Regions from separate parts of the Homo sapiens genome. Here regions 2 and 3 are each linked to region 1. The links are contacts of gene promoters, found by promoter capture Hi-C in blood cells and fetal thymus (Javierre and others, 2016). All regions are on one chromosome and are shown on one strand. Each heading gives the region's core, a stretch centred on a gene start or on the middle of the fragment in contact. The rest is flanking DNA. Distances are from core to core; before and after follow the strand shown.

Evidence for each region. Contacts are between HindIII fragments. The CHiCAGO score rates a contact against its expected background, and 5 or more counts as called.
Region 2: a contact is called between a fragment that was not itself captured here and the fragment with the promoter of BATF in region 1, in 1 of 17 cell types (neutrophils). The highest score is 5.6, in neutrophils.
Region 3: a fragment that was not itself captured here is called in contact with the fragment with the promoter of BATF in region 1 in 1 of 17 cell types (activated CD4 T cells); the score reaches 5.2 in activated CD4 T cells.

What each region holds. Positions count from the first base shown.
Region 1 is chr14:75,519,591-75,524,312 of GRCh38, forward strand. BATF (basic leucine zipper ATF-like transcription factor) reads left to right here and starts at 2,879. Exons shown (of 3, transcript NM_006399.5): 1 at 2,879-3,155. The coding sequence starts at 3,093. LOC105370572 (a long non-coding RNA gene) reads left to right here. Exons shown (of 3, transcript XR_944037.3): 3 at 1-184. RefSeq lists an enhancer at 2,847-3,176. The HindIII fragment of the contact is 2,331 bases long and covers 1,096-3,426 here.
Region 2 is chr14:75,095,589-75,100,310 of GRCh38, forward strand. NEK9 (NIMA related kinase 9) reads right to left here. Exons shown (of 22, transcript NM_033116.6): 17 at 1,512-1,682. Among named protein-coding and RNA genes, the nearest start is that of ZC2HC1C, 28 kb to the left of the region's middle. RefSeq lists a silencer at 3,476-3,673. The HindIII fragment of the contact is 1,111 bases long and covers 713-1,823 here.
Region 3 is chr14:75,227,414-75,232,135 of GRCh38, forward strand. No RefSeq gene overlaps it. Among named protein-coding and RNA genes, the nearest start is that of FOS, 49 kb to the right of the region's middle. RefSeq lists a cis regulatory region at 2,330-2,885. The HindIII fragment of the contact is 732 bases long and covers 2,038-2,769 here.

The DNA of each region.
Region 1 (4,722 bases), core at 1,629-4,128:
TGTTCAAAGAGCTAAGAACTTCATCCATACGCTGTAATACTTAGAACGCTTGTAACATTTATAATAACCTGTTTGGTTATTTGACTATGTTTTCTTTTTTCTGTGAGAGCAGAGTCTCTGTCTTATTCATATTTAAGAATTCTGCTCTGTAATAGGTGATAAATAAATGTTAATTTAAACCGAATGAAACATAAATATGACTATTATTGTCCTGAAAGGGCTTTCAATACACTAGGATAATGCAGGTCATAAGTGCCATAAATGAAGAGCAAAGTGAATTCACTTATGCATTCATTCGTTTGAAAACCATTTACTCGGCATCTGTTAGGTACTGAGCATATGACTATAAACAAGAGAAACACAGACTTTGGTTTTTACAGGGCCCACTTCTCACCACTTTCATCACTGTCTAACTGGCCTATGCTGCCAGCATCTTTTGTTTGGATGGTTGCAGTAATCCAATACTGAAATCCTGACTCATCTCCCTGCTTCCACTTTGCTCCCCTATCGTAAAATCTCAACTGTGTCCAGAGAGATCCTCTAAAAACCTAAGTCAGATCATGTCACTCCTCTGCTCTGACACCTCCAATGGCTTCTCATCTGTAGGAGATTGTAGAAATTGCCACAATTAGTTAAATTTTTCCTATCGAGAAGTGAAGTCTGTTTCTCAACTCATTGAGTCTGAACTGGCCTTGTGACTCTCCTCGGCCAATAGAATGTGGCAGGTTCTGAGTTCTGTGCTAGCTCTGAGCCTGGGTTCCATGGGGCTTCGAATGCTTCTGCTCCTACTCTTGGAATCCTGCCACTATCAAATAAACATGCTCCGACCAGCCTGTTGGTGGATGAGAGACCATGTGGAGGAGAAATGCCCAAGGCAAAGCCAGGCCAGACCAGTCAATTATCAGCCAACCTACCAGCTGTCTGAGGACACATGACCGAGCCTAGCCGAGATCAGCCTAGCCCAGCCTATCCCCAAAGAACCTTTCAGATGACCCACAGACTCATGAGCCAAATAAATGGCTTGAGTCATCGAAGTTTCTGGTAGTTTTTTGGGCAGCGAACACTGATAGACTATCTCATTTAGACAAAAAGTCAAGCTTCTTTTTACTAACTGTATCCTCAGTACTTAGTGCCTGGCACATGGTAGATGCACCATGAACGTTTGTTGAATATATTAATAAAGGTGTAAATGGTTTTAACATTCTATTGAGGGAAACAGGAAAAAGATAAATCAGTAAACGAATAAAATAAGTATAAAATTGGGTAACTGCTATGGGAGAAATGAATAGTAGCTGAGGTAGAGGATAAGAATGAAGGTGGAAGGGGAAACCCTCCATGGGCTCACTGTGTCTTTCAGAATGAAAGCTAAAATCCTGATGTTGGCCTCTAAGGCCCTCCCTGACCGGGCCATTACCTCACTGACCTCATCGCCTGCCACTTTTGCTGCCTCTGATATCCAACTACCTGGCCCCCCTGCTCTTTTTCCAATACTCAAGCACACTTCCACCTCAGGTCCTGGAATGTCCTTCCCTGAGACACTCACCATTCACTCCCTCTCTTTCTTCGAATCTCTGCTCAGGTATCCCCTCTTTGGGCAAGGCCCTTCTGACCACCCAGAATTCCCTAACCTCCAACCCTGCTTTATTTTCCTCCATAGGAAAGGAATTTTGTCTTACTTAATTTAACCTTAGGGCAATATTGTCTTAGTCTAGAAATTCAGCTCATGGATACAAAAATCCTCTAGGAGCCGTAACTTCCTGTCAATCCTAAAATTTAATAAGGCAAATGTTTGGCTTCGAGCCATACTGGGAATAAGGTAAGGCCTTTTGAAAAAGCCACGATGCCCAGGTGAGGGTTGAATTGATCACTGAGAACCCTACAAATGCGCTCATGGCAAGGCTGGGAATACCCTACACTTACCCTCTCGGTCATTTACTTCAGAGTCTGCGGGGCATTCTAATCCGCGTTGTCATTTGCTTTGTGCCACATTCCTAAGAGGTAGGCAGGGCAGGTTTTATCATCCTCTGTTTACAGATGAAGATAATGAAGGTCACATAGCTCAAGTGAGCTACCCAGGGCCACAGACATACAAAGTGGTAGAACCAGAATTTAAATCTTGGTTGGTCTGACTCCAAGTGTAGTATTTGTTTCACTTTTTCTTTCTTTCTTTCTTTCTTTTTTTTTTTTAACTGTTTCTGCATTCTGGGTTCTGACCAGGTGACCTTGAATCATAAAGATTCAGGGCCTGTCTTGAGCTGCTCAATATGGAAGGCATCTTTTCTCTAAAGAGTGTGAGCTCCCTGCCAAGCAGCACAGGCGCTTAATAGGCTTTCAGAGCAGCAATTCTAGAACCTCCCTTGTGGCTTTCTGATCTCCCACAGCCCTTGTGTTTGATGGTCAGGAAAGGAGAATACCCTTGGATCGTCTTATCTCCAGACCACCCCGAGGCTGGCTGGACTTAAGGGGTGAGGAAAGACAAGATGGGTGAGCAGCTGCTTTCGGCTGAAAACCAGAAAGAAATCCCAGTGTTTTTGCTTTATTTTGGTTTAAAAATCAAGTCGTATGACAATGGAAACATTTTCCTGGTTGTCCTCTCCTCTCTGCCCATGTTGACAGAAGACGGACTTGCTAATTCTGGCTGGGGTTTTTCCCTGCCTGGGCTGTTTTTCTCTTTTATCTTCATCAATTGAAGAGGGCTGCTGTGTCTTTCAAACTGTCGGAAGGTATCTGTATTTTTTTTTCTTTCACATAATTCTGTAGGTCTTTTCCCAGATATGTATTTTTCTCTCTAACTTCTAACTCGCTGAAGTTTCCGCCCATGTGACTTCCAGCGTGAGTTACCAGAAACCACAAGAGAGAGAGAGAGCGTGCAAGCCCCAAAGCGAGCGACATGTCCCTTTGGGGAGCAGTCCCTCTGCACCCCAGAGTGAGGAGGACGCAGGGGTCAGAGGTGGCTACAGGGCAGGCAGAGGAGGCACCTGTAGGGGGTGGTGGGCTGGTGGCCCAGGAGAAGTCAGGAAGGGAGCCCAGCTGGTGACAAGAGAGCCCAGAGGTGCCTGGGGCTGAGTGTGAGAGCCCGGAAGATTTCAGCCATGCCTCACAGCTCCGACAGCAGTGACTCCAGCTTCAGCCGCTCTCCTCCCCCTGGCAAACAGGTAGAGTCCTCCTTTTTCTCTCTCCTACCTTCTGATTCTCCTGGGGGATGGAAAGAGAGCCAGGCTTCCTTGTCCTGCCCAGGGAGCTGAGGATGGAGGAAGTGGCTCGTTGCACGGGCACTCTGTTAGACTTAGGACATGGAATTTGCTACTAAGCTGTGCATATTGGCAGAGATCCTCATCCTTCCACCCATTCTGCCAAAGCCCCTTTTTCTCTCCATTTTCCAAGGCTGCCTATCACCTCTGCCTCACTGGGGTTGCCACCCTAAAAAGCTTTCTAGGAAGCAAAGAGGAGGATGAACATCAAAGAATGCAGAGAAAAGAGTCTACTGTTCTCCAAGGCTGTAGAAAAGTGAGAGGAGTTTTCAAGTGGGCCGCTGGCATGCACAGCTCAAATCCTAGATATGCAGTTTCCCAGGAGACAGCCAATAGGGAAGGGGAGAAAAGGGGTTAGGGAAAAGTTAAAAAAAAAAAAAAAGAAGAAGAAGAAGAGGAAGAAGGAGGAGGAGGAGGAGAAACCCAGGCTAGCATAGAAGGATCTCTCTACTGGGGCACTGCCTCTGTTGCTAGCACAGCCAGCAAGGGGAGATGCTAGAGGTCCAGCCAATATCTCTTTGCTTGTGGCTTCTGGATAGGAGCAAGGAAATGAATGAGGAGGTGGCTCTGGAAATTTGTTGGAAGACATTTGCTGGTAGTTCATCTTAGCTCTGGGGAAACCAGAGAGACTGAGATAGGGATTGTGGGAGCATTTGGAGTCTAGATTGTGACTTCCAAGTCCAAAGGTTTTAGCTTGAGGATTACCAAAAAAGGAGTGCCCTGCCCATCTCACAGCTTCTAGGGTTTTGTTCTGCACCACACTCTTGACATCCCTTGCTGTAGGAAGCCCTCCTCTTTCTCATCCGACATGTATCCGTGGGTTAAAATTTTCTCAACCTTCATAGTTTAAAAACTTCATTCTTTCCTTAGCACAGATATCCACAAGGGTTTTCAAAATGCTGCAGCCAAAATAAAAGTATATAAATATTGAACAGGGCGTATATCCTAAGCCTCTAATAACGGAGCAGCAGGCTGGGATGAGTCTGGGTGGAGACCTCTAGAAGGCACAGAATCCAGTCTGCTGCTCAAGATGGTGTCAGAGTGGCTCTGACTGCCTGGAAGTTTGTACTTTTCTTAGGAAGGAAATTACTCATGGCTTCCATGGTAACCTGGTGCCCCATCCCCCTTAGAGGAAGAGCACTTCCTTCCTATCTATGCCAATGACCTCCTACCACAAAGGCCTGAAAGTATTGGACATGTTGGTGAGCCCAGTACTTAGTGATCCCAGAGCTTTGCCCTTGGATCTGTGCCCCTCTAGCCTGTGGGAGACGTGGAAGGGAACAGGGCATGAGTTGCCAGGACTCCTACACCTACACTGCAGCATCTGGGAGAGAACTGGAGCTAACCTCTCTGCCCAGGCACAGGACATGCCTCTCTCTGGGTGTAATTAGAGAACACCCAAAGATCCCCTTATCCTACCAAGCACCCATCTACTGCCCACCACAGCCAGGTCACCTCCACCATTAACGTT
Region 2 (4,722 bases), core at 18-2,517, 430 kb before region 1:
CTTGCTATTCTAAGTATATTCACTATCTACATTAGCAACTGTCTGCCTTGGCTGGTCACTGGAATCACCTGGGAAGTTTTAAAAAGTAACCATGTGTTTGAGACCAGCCTAGGCAACATGGCAAAACCCAATCTCTAAAAAAAAATGCAAAGCTAGCCAGGTGTGGTGGCACTGGCCTGTAGTCCCAGCTACTTGGGAGGCTCAGGTGAGAGGATCAATTGAGCCTGGGAGAGCGAAACTACAGTGAGCTGTGTCTGTGCCACTGCACTCTACTCTGGGTAACAGAGTGAGACTCTGTCTCAAAATTTAAAAAAAGGAAGTAACATTGCATAGGTCTGTAGGTTCCACCCCAGAGATTCTGATTTAATTGGTCAGGGATAGGGTCTGGACCGTGGTATTCTTAAAAGCTTCTTGGCCGGGTTCAGTGGCTCATGTCTGTAATCTCAGCACTTTGGGAGGCCGAGGCAGGCAGATCATGAGGTCAGGAGTTCAAGACCAGCCTGGCTAATATGGTGAAACCCCATCTCTACTAAAAAATCCAAAAATTAGCCAGGTGTGATGGTACACTCCTGTAGTCCCAGCTACTCGAGAGACTGAGGCAGGAGAATCGCTTGAACCTGGGAGGATGCAGTGAGCTGAGATCGCACCACTGCGCTCCAGCCTGGGCGACAGAGCGAGACTTCGTCTCAAAAAAAAAAAAAAAAAAAAAAAAAGCTTCTCAAGGATTCTAATGTATGTGCTGCTAAGGTTGCAAACCACTGATCTAAAAGTAGACTTATAAACCCTTACACAGGCATTTATAAAGTAGTTCCTAACAAAGTAATCTTTATGCAGAAAGTGCTTATAATTTAAAGTTTCTTTTAAAGGATGTACTGAATGTTTCTCATGAAAGCATGAGCACAGACAACAAATTAATTGGTGGATGATTAGAAGTAACAAATTCTAGGGCCAGGCACGGTGGCTCATGCCTGTAATCCCAGCACTTTGGGAGGCTGAGGCAGGTGGATCACCTGAGGTCAGGAGTTCTAGACCAGCCTGGCCAACGTGGTGGAACCCCATCTCTACCAAAAATACAAAAATTAGTCAGGCGTGGTGGTAGGCACCTATAGTCCAAGCTACTTGGGAGGCTGAGGCAAGAGAATTTGCTTGAACCCAAGAGGCGGAGGTTGCAGTGAGCCGAGATCACACCATAGCACTCCAGCCTGGGCGAAAAGAGTGAAACTCCAACTCAAAAAAAAGACAAAAAAAAACAACCAAAAAAATCAATTCTAAGGGGGCAGGCAGAGCCCAAACTTATATTAAAAAATAATCAAGAGATGGCAGATAGCAAAGCTCCAGGAAATGACAATGTTCTGTTCCCACCACTAGGCATGGCATCCTTGACCATTACAAGACTTACAGAAATGGCTTCTTCAGGACATTTCTGTTTCCAACAATGTGACTAACAGTACTCAGATGTGGGTCCATCCTCTGTCAAAGCCATCCCAACCCCAGACATATGAAACTCTTACCAACGATGAGAATGGTATGCCATCCACGGCAAGACAGGTCCGGGACATGATGCAGAGATCCAAAAATAGGCCGAGGCCATGAGGTACAGATATCAGAGCCATGTGGTCTCTCTGTGGGGGTCATTGCCAGGCGGCCATTACCACCATTGCCCCAGGCAAAAATGTGATTATCTAGGAAAAAAGTTAAACAGTAGACCATTTAACAGAACACTGGCTTCCCAATTCTCCGGGTTCCCCATCTTTATATCCTAGAGCTAGAAAGACTTCCCACTATGTACTAAACAAGGGAAAGCTGTTTATTCTCCTATATAAAGCTTAAACTCTTCCTGATTCCACTTGGGTAAAAATGCCCACTCTTCCTATGTACTGCCATTCACTCATTCATTCATCCAATCATTCACCTTTTTCTTCAACAACTTTTTATTGGTCATTCATTCAAACAGTGACTGAACATCTATTTCATGACAGGTACTGCATGGGGTGATAGAGCAGTGAACAAAACCAAGTCCTTGCCCTGTGGAACTGACATTCTAGTAGGGGAGACTGATAATAATAAATATACACCTAATATTTAAGGTGGTGATAAATGCTATGAAGATAAATGGTGGAGAAAAATAAGTGGAAACAAAGAGTAACAGTGGGGTGGGATATCATTATTTTAGATAGGGTAGGTCAGAGGAGTTCTGACACTTGAACAGAGATCTACTGGAGTGACGAAGAGTTTCCAGGCAGAGAGAAGAGCAACAGCAAAAGTAATGTCAGCAGCACAAACAAGGAACAAGGAGACCCCTGCAGCTAGAACAAAGTAAAGGAAGGGACGGAATAACAGAAGGGGTCAGGAGGTGGCTGAGGTCCTGCTCACATAGGGCCAGTCGGGCCACTGTGATGACTCTGGCACTTACTGACTGATAGAGGAAACCACTGGAGGTTTTGAGCAGTAGTTATTTAAGAGAATCCCTCTGTCTACTGAGGAGAACTGATGGCAGGGGAGCAAGGATGGAAGCAGGGAGACCAGTTGTAGTGGAGATGGTGAGAAGTGGTTGGATTTATTCTGAAGATAACCAATATGGATGGGATGTGGAGTGTAGGAGGAAGTTGCCATTTACTGAGACAGGAAGGCTGCAGGAGGTACAGATCTGGGCAGAAAATCAGAAGTTTGATTTTGAGTATACTAAGTTTGTCTGAGATGCCTATAACTTCTTATCCAAATCAGGCTTTTAAAAAAAAATGAAACAGGGTGGCTATTAATCATTAAGCCAGGACAACAGGCATGAAGGCATGAATCAGGATTGGTCTAAGATAACTGGGTTATATGGCCCACCCTAAATTTAGACATCAAGTTGAGGAGCTGTTGAATAAATGAGTCTGAAGGTCAAGCCTGGTGATATAAAGCAGTCAATGTATAGGGGGAATTTAAGGGAACAAGCTCACTTTGGAGAGACAAGTGAGCCTTGGGGTACTCCAGGACTTAGAAGACTAGGCTGCTGCTATTATAGCACCTAACACCTGCCTGTGCTAGTCCCCTATTCTACTAGAGTGTGAGCTCCTTGAAAGCAGGAGTTTTCTGAGACTCATTTCTATATTCCTAGAGCCTAAAAGAGGACTTGGACATGAATGAGGCCATCAAGTACAGTTCAGAGGAGTATAGGAACATCAAGAGGTAATATGCCCAGCCACAGAATCCAAATTTACATTCCTCATTCTGAAGTTAAAGTCATGAACTACACAGATCTATTCAAGAAACATGAGCTCTCTGAAGCCCTGTCAGAAAGTGCTACTGCAGTTGCTGCACTAAATTTATCTTCAGTGACATCCTGACTGTCCTGTGTAACGTTTCCATTTATCCAAGTCTGACCTAAACAGTTTGCTCCTTAAAGTCCCTTATTTTGGGACAAGCAGAGAGAGTTAATGTGCTGTTCTGAATGCTGGTTTATTTAAATATGGTAACAGATCACAATATCCCTGAGACCCCTCATGAGTACAGAACAGGCATGGACCAAAAGAAAACAAGGATATCTCAGAGCACAAGCAACAACAAAAAAGTTGATGAGTCAAAAGATAAGAAGATTAAATGTATTGGCTGGGCATGGTGGCACACGCCTGTAATTCCAGCTACTTGGGAGGCTGAGGCAGGAGAAGCACTTGAACCCGGGAGGTGGAGGCTGCACTGAGCCGAGATCATACCACTGTACTCCAGCCTGGGTGACAGAGCGAGACTCTGTCTCAAAAAGAAAAAGAGAGAAAATGAAATGTGAGTTGTTACCAGTCAAGTGAAAAAAGTGGCTACAAAAATTTAGAAGTTCAGATGATGACACAGGAAAAAGAAAAAAGAGGAAAAAAGCAAGCAAAGAAGGAAGGGAATGTAGGATAGCAACAGCAGCAGTACAGAAGAGAAGGAGTGACCAGGAGTGGTGGCTCACGCCTATAATCCCAGCACTTTCGGAGGCCAAGGCGGGTGGATCATCTGAGGTCAGGAGTTCAAGACCAGTCTGGCTAACAGGGCAAAACCCCATCTCTACTAAAAATACAAAAATTAGCTGGGCATGGTGGCGAGTGCCTGTAATCCCAGCTACTCAGGAGGCTAAGGCAGGAGAATCGCTTGAACCTGGGAGGCGGTAGTTGCAGTGAGCTGAGATCGCGCCACTGCACTCCAGCCTGGGCGACAACAGTGAGATTGTGTCTCAAAAAAAAAAAAAAAAGAAGAGGAGTGAGGAACCAGACAATACTGCGGAAAGAAATAGCCACAGAGGACCAGGTGCAGTGGCTCACACCTGTAATCCCAGCACTCTGGCAGGCCGAGGTGGGCAGATCACGAGGTCAGGAGTTCGAGACCAGCCTGGCTAACATGGTGAAACCCTGTCTGTACTAAAAATACAAAAATTAGCTGGACGTGGTGGTTTGTGCCTGTAGTTCCAGCTACTCAGGAGGCTGAGGCACAAGAATCACTTGAACCCGGGAGGTGGAGGTTGCAGTGAGCCAAGATCGCGCCATTGTACTCTAGGCTGGGCAATAGAGCAAGACTCCATCTCAAAAAAAAAAAAAAAAAAAAAAAAAAAAAAAAAAAAGGCCAGGCACAATGGCTCACGCCTGTAATCTCAGCACTTTGGGAGGCCGAGGCAAGCGGATCACCTGAGGTTGGGAGTTCGAGACCAGCTGACCAACATAAAGAAACCCCGTCTCTACTAAAAATACAGAAATTAGCCGAGTATGG
Region 3 (4,722 bases), core at 1,154-3,653, 290 kb before region 1:
GCCACTGAGGCTGGGCACGGTGGCTCACACTTGTAATCCCAGCACTTTCGGAGGCCGAGGCAGGTGGATGGCTTAAGTCTAGGAGTTCAAGACCACCCTGGGCAACATGGTGAAACCCCGTCTCTACAAAACATTTACATATTTGCTGGGCATGGTGACACGTGCCTGTAGTCCTGGCTACTTGGGAGGCTGTCATGGGAGCATTGCTTGAGCCCGGGAGGTTGAGGCTGCAGTGAGTTGAGATCGTGCCACTGCACCTAGCCTGGGTGACAGAGCAAGACCTTGTCTCAAAAAAATAAAAGAAAGGGGGCCACTGAGGCTGGGCACGGTGGCTCATGCCTGTAATCCTAGCACTTGGGGAGGCTGAGGTGAGCAGATCACCTGAGGTCGGGAGTTCGAGACCAGCCTGACCAACATGGTGAAACCCTGTCTCTACTAAAATATACAAAAAATTAGCCAGGTGTGGTGGCATTTGCCTGTAATCCCAGCTACTCAGGAGGCTGAGGCAGGAGAATCGCTTGAACCCAGGAGGTGGAGGTTGCAGTGAGCTGAGATTGTGCCATTGCACTCCAGCCTGGGCAACAAGAGTGAAACTCCGTCTCAAAAAAATAAAAAAAGAAAAGAAAAGAAAAGAAAGGGGGCTACTGAACTCAGCCTGAAGTGGGGCAGCGGTCAGCAAAGTCTTGTGAATGAATGGTGAGTTACCAGGAAAAAGGGTGAAGAACAGTATTCCAGGCAGCAGCTGCACGTGTAAAAAGCATGGAGTGGTGAGAGCAGAGTGGCTCAGCCTGGGCTGAGGATGAGGAAGCCGGTGCTGTGACTACAGAGGAAGCCAGAAAGAAAGCAGGGGACAGACCACGAGGACTTTGCATGTCATACTAGTTTGTTTCTTATCATTAAAGCCATGGATCCCTCCTCCCTAAATGAATAATCCCACCTTTTTCCCTTTGTTCCCACAGTCCTGGGAGGAGGAGTAGCTGTTTCCTGCAGTTGCTGCCTCAGTGATACCTCAGTGTTCTCTTTGTCATTTCACTTTCCAAGTTGAAGTTAACAATTCTTTTTTGTTTTGGACCTAGTAAACAATTCTTTATCTTAAATTGACCCTGTTACAATGTGTTACAATAGCTGGTGTGATTTCAGTTCCCCGTCTGGACCTTGACTGAGAAAGGGCCCTTGAGAGGTTTTTGTTTTTGTTTTTGAGACAGTTTCACTCTTGTTGCCAGGCTGGAGTGCAATGGCACAATCTTGGCTCACTGCAACCTCCGCCTCCCGGATTCAAGCGATTCTCCTGCCTCAGCCTCCCGAGTAGCTGGGATTACAGGCATGCACCACCACGCTCGGATAATTTTTGTATTTTTAGTAGAGACGGAATTTCTCCATGTTGGTCAGGCTGGTCTCAATCTCCTGACCTCATGATCTGCCCGCCTCAGCCTCCCAAAGTGCTGGGATTACAGGCGTGAGCTATCGCTCCTGGCTGAGAGATTTTTAAGTAAGAGGAGGCGTGCCGTCAGATTTACATTTTAGAAAGTTGTCTCTAGGGGCAATGGTGGAGAACAACGACTAGAAGCAAGGAGCCCACTGAGGCCGTGGTTCCCGTGTTACAGGGGAGATACAGCGGCAGCCAGAATGCAGAGGTGGAAGGTAGATGGGAAGGAGGGGATACAGTCAAGAGATACTAAGGAAATAGAATTAACAGAAGAGGGAGATCAAGAGATTTGCTTATGCTTCTGGGTTTGCAGGACATGCCATTTACTGGGGCACAGAATATAGAAGAATTAGGTGTGTGTCAAGAAGATCCATCATTCTGTTTTGTACACGTTAAGTCTAAGAACCACCAGGTGGAAATGGAGGCAGCTGTGTATGCAGATGTGTGGGCAGAAGAGCCAGGCAGATGGATTCGGAACTCAGCAGGGTATGGCTGTGGTTGAGGTCATGCAGAGAGCATGGTGGGTGGGGGCACTGACGGCAGAATCTCCTAGAACCCCAACATTTAGGAGATGAGCTGAGAAACAGGAACCCTAGATTATCTGGAAGAGAAGCTTGGGAACTACGAAAGTGTTCAGAGGGAGGATCAGGCAGGGCACTTGTCAGAACAACTGCAGTCTGGGTACTCAAAGGAAGGAAACTTCTCAAAGGTGTGTGTTTCAGGCATGCAGATACATATGCATTTTTAAAGTCATTCCTTCTCTTAAGTTTGGAATATTGAGGAAAAACTCTTTCACATCAACCCTGGTGCCACCAGGCGACCTGGCCCAACCCTTCACTGTTGTCCAAGTGCGTCAGGAGAAGCCACCTGGCCGGAAGGAGCCAGGTGGAGCAGAGGGCAGCCAGTCTTATAGTCAATAGTCAGTGATAAGGCCAGATGTGTGGCAATATCAAATAATCAAGAACTGGCGTCATCCCCAGACAGCATGCTTAACTGTCTTCAGTGAGGAGACAAGGAAGGGGTGGAGGGGTGTCTCAGATGCCTGGGAGGGGAAATGGGAGGGAGCTCGCATTTGTGGAGTGGGCCAGGCCCTGTGCTAGGCTCTTTCCATGTTATCTCCACTAACCCTCCCAACAGCCATGCCTGTTTCAAAGATAAGACAGATGGGGCTCCAAGAGGTTAAATAATGTGCCTCAGGTAGTAACTGAGTGACCTAGGATTTGAACCTGGAAGGCCAAAGGCCATGCTGTCTCAAGGGAGCCCTTGGTCACCAGTTCAGTCAATCTCCCTGGTGAAGGTCCGTGTGCTGTAAGTTTGGGCATGGATACAAACCTTCCCATTGAAGCTTGATATGAGTGATGGCTCAGCGCCCAATCAGCAGCCAGATTAGGTGTTCTCCATGAGTGGTTTGGTGCTAGCACTTGCTTCCAAACCACACTTCCTGTTCATCTTTCACACCTATTGTCTCACTGCTGGGTTTCTTGCCAAATGCCTCCCTTGCCACTCCCAGTATGGGGGCAGAGTGACTAGGGAACAGCTTACAATGAGGAGTCTGTCAGACCTCCTTACTTTGCAGACGTCCTAAACACCTGATGAGCAACCACCAACTACTGAGGAGAGCCAATTTGCACCCAATTTTTGAGACCCTAAAAGACACTCTTTGAGCCTGATTACAGGTCAAATACTGGTAATAGCTAAAGGGTGGCTTTCTGTGTGCTGAGCCTTGAATTGTCTGCCTAACATGCATTGTTTCATATAATTCTTAAAATAACCCCATGAGGTGAGTGCGATTATTACACCCATTTTGCCTACAAGGAAGCAGGCTGAGAGAAAAGTGTCTACACCCAGTAAGCACCAGGAATGTCTGAATCAAAGGCAGGGAGAGGTGCCTGCCAAGCCCCGCACTTCCTTTCTCTCCCTTCCCCTAAGGCCTTTGGCTTAGATACGCTGATCCTTGAGAAATCCCTCCTCTCTCTTCCTTCCTTCCTTCCTTCCTTCCTTCCTTCCTTCCTTCCTTTCTTTTTTCTTCCTTTCTCTCGCTCTCTCTCTTCTTCTTTCTTTTTTTTTCTGGAGTCTCGCTCTGTTTCCCAGGCGTGATCTTGGCTCACTGCAACCTCCACCTCCAGGGTTCCAGCAATTCTCTTGCCTCAGCCTCCTTAGTGGCTGAGACTATAGGAGTGCGCCACCACGCCCAGCGAAGTTTTGTATTTTTAGTAGACATGGGGTTTCACCATGTTGGCTAGTATGGTCTTGATCTCTTGAGCTTGTGATCCACCTGCCTCAGACTCCCAAAGTGCTGGAATTACAGACACGAGCCACCGCGCCCGGCCTATTCAGGAGCTTTTACCCCATAAATCTTCTTACACATAGAAAAATAAAAAGTTCTGTCCCTTGTTACAGGTATTTTATATTATCAGTGGCGCCAATAAGGTGGGTGCATGTGTGTGCACACATGCGTGTATATGGGTGTGTGTGCACACCTGCATGTATATGGGTGTGTGTGCACACATGCATGTATGTGTCTGTGTGTGTGCATACACATATGTGGGGGTGGAGTAGGAATCAGGCAAATCAACCTCATAGACCTGTTCCCTGTTTCTGGGGTCATATATGGCTACAGTGACTATGTTTCTGAACCACAGGCCAGGCCACATGTCCTGGCCATTGCAATGGTTGTTGAGGGGATATTACAACAGTGAAACTGATACCTGCCCATGAGATACAGAGGCTGTTGGCTAACAGTTCAGCAGATACACTGTAGCGTGCTTTGGAGACATTCTAAAGGCCTCTGAGAGAGACAATGTCTTGCCAAGAGTTGAGGCCTGAAACTTGACAGCTGCCCACAGCCCATTTAAGGGTTAGTGTTACTCGACACAATTTTAAAGACATTGTCATGGAGGATCTGATATTCTCAGAACATTCAAGAGAAATGTTATAGCCTAAAACCAGAGGGGAAATCTGAAACCATATCTTCTTTTAGGGGCTACTATAGAATTCATTAAATTAATAATTAAATCTATGTATGTACATACAAAATGTTATGGACAACTGAGCCAGCCCTACACACACACAAGATGTCAGAAAGATTACCTCTGGCCGGGCACGGTGGCTCACACCTGTAATCCCAGCACTTTGGGAGGCCAAGCTGGGTGGAACATCTGAGGTCAGGAGTTCGAGACCAGCCTGGTAAACATGGTAAAACCCTGTCTCTACTAAAAATACAAAAATTAGCTGGGCGTGGTGACTCCCGCCTGTAGTCCCAGCTACTCGGGAGGCTGAGGCACTAGAATCGCTTG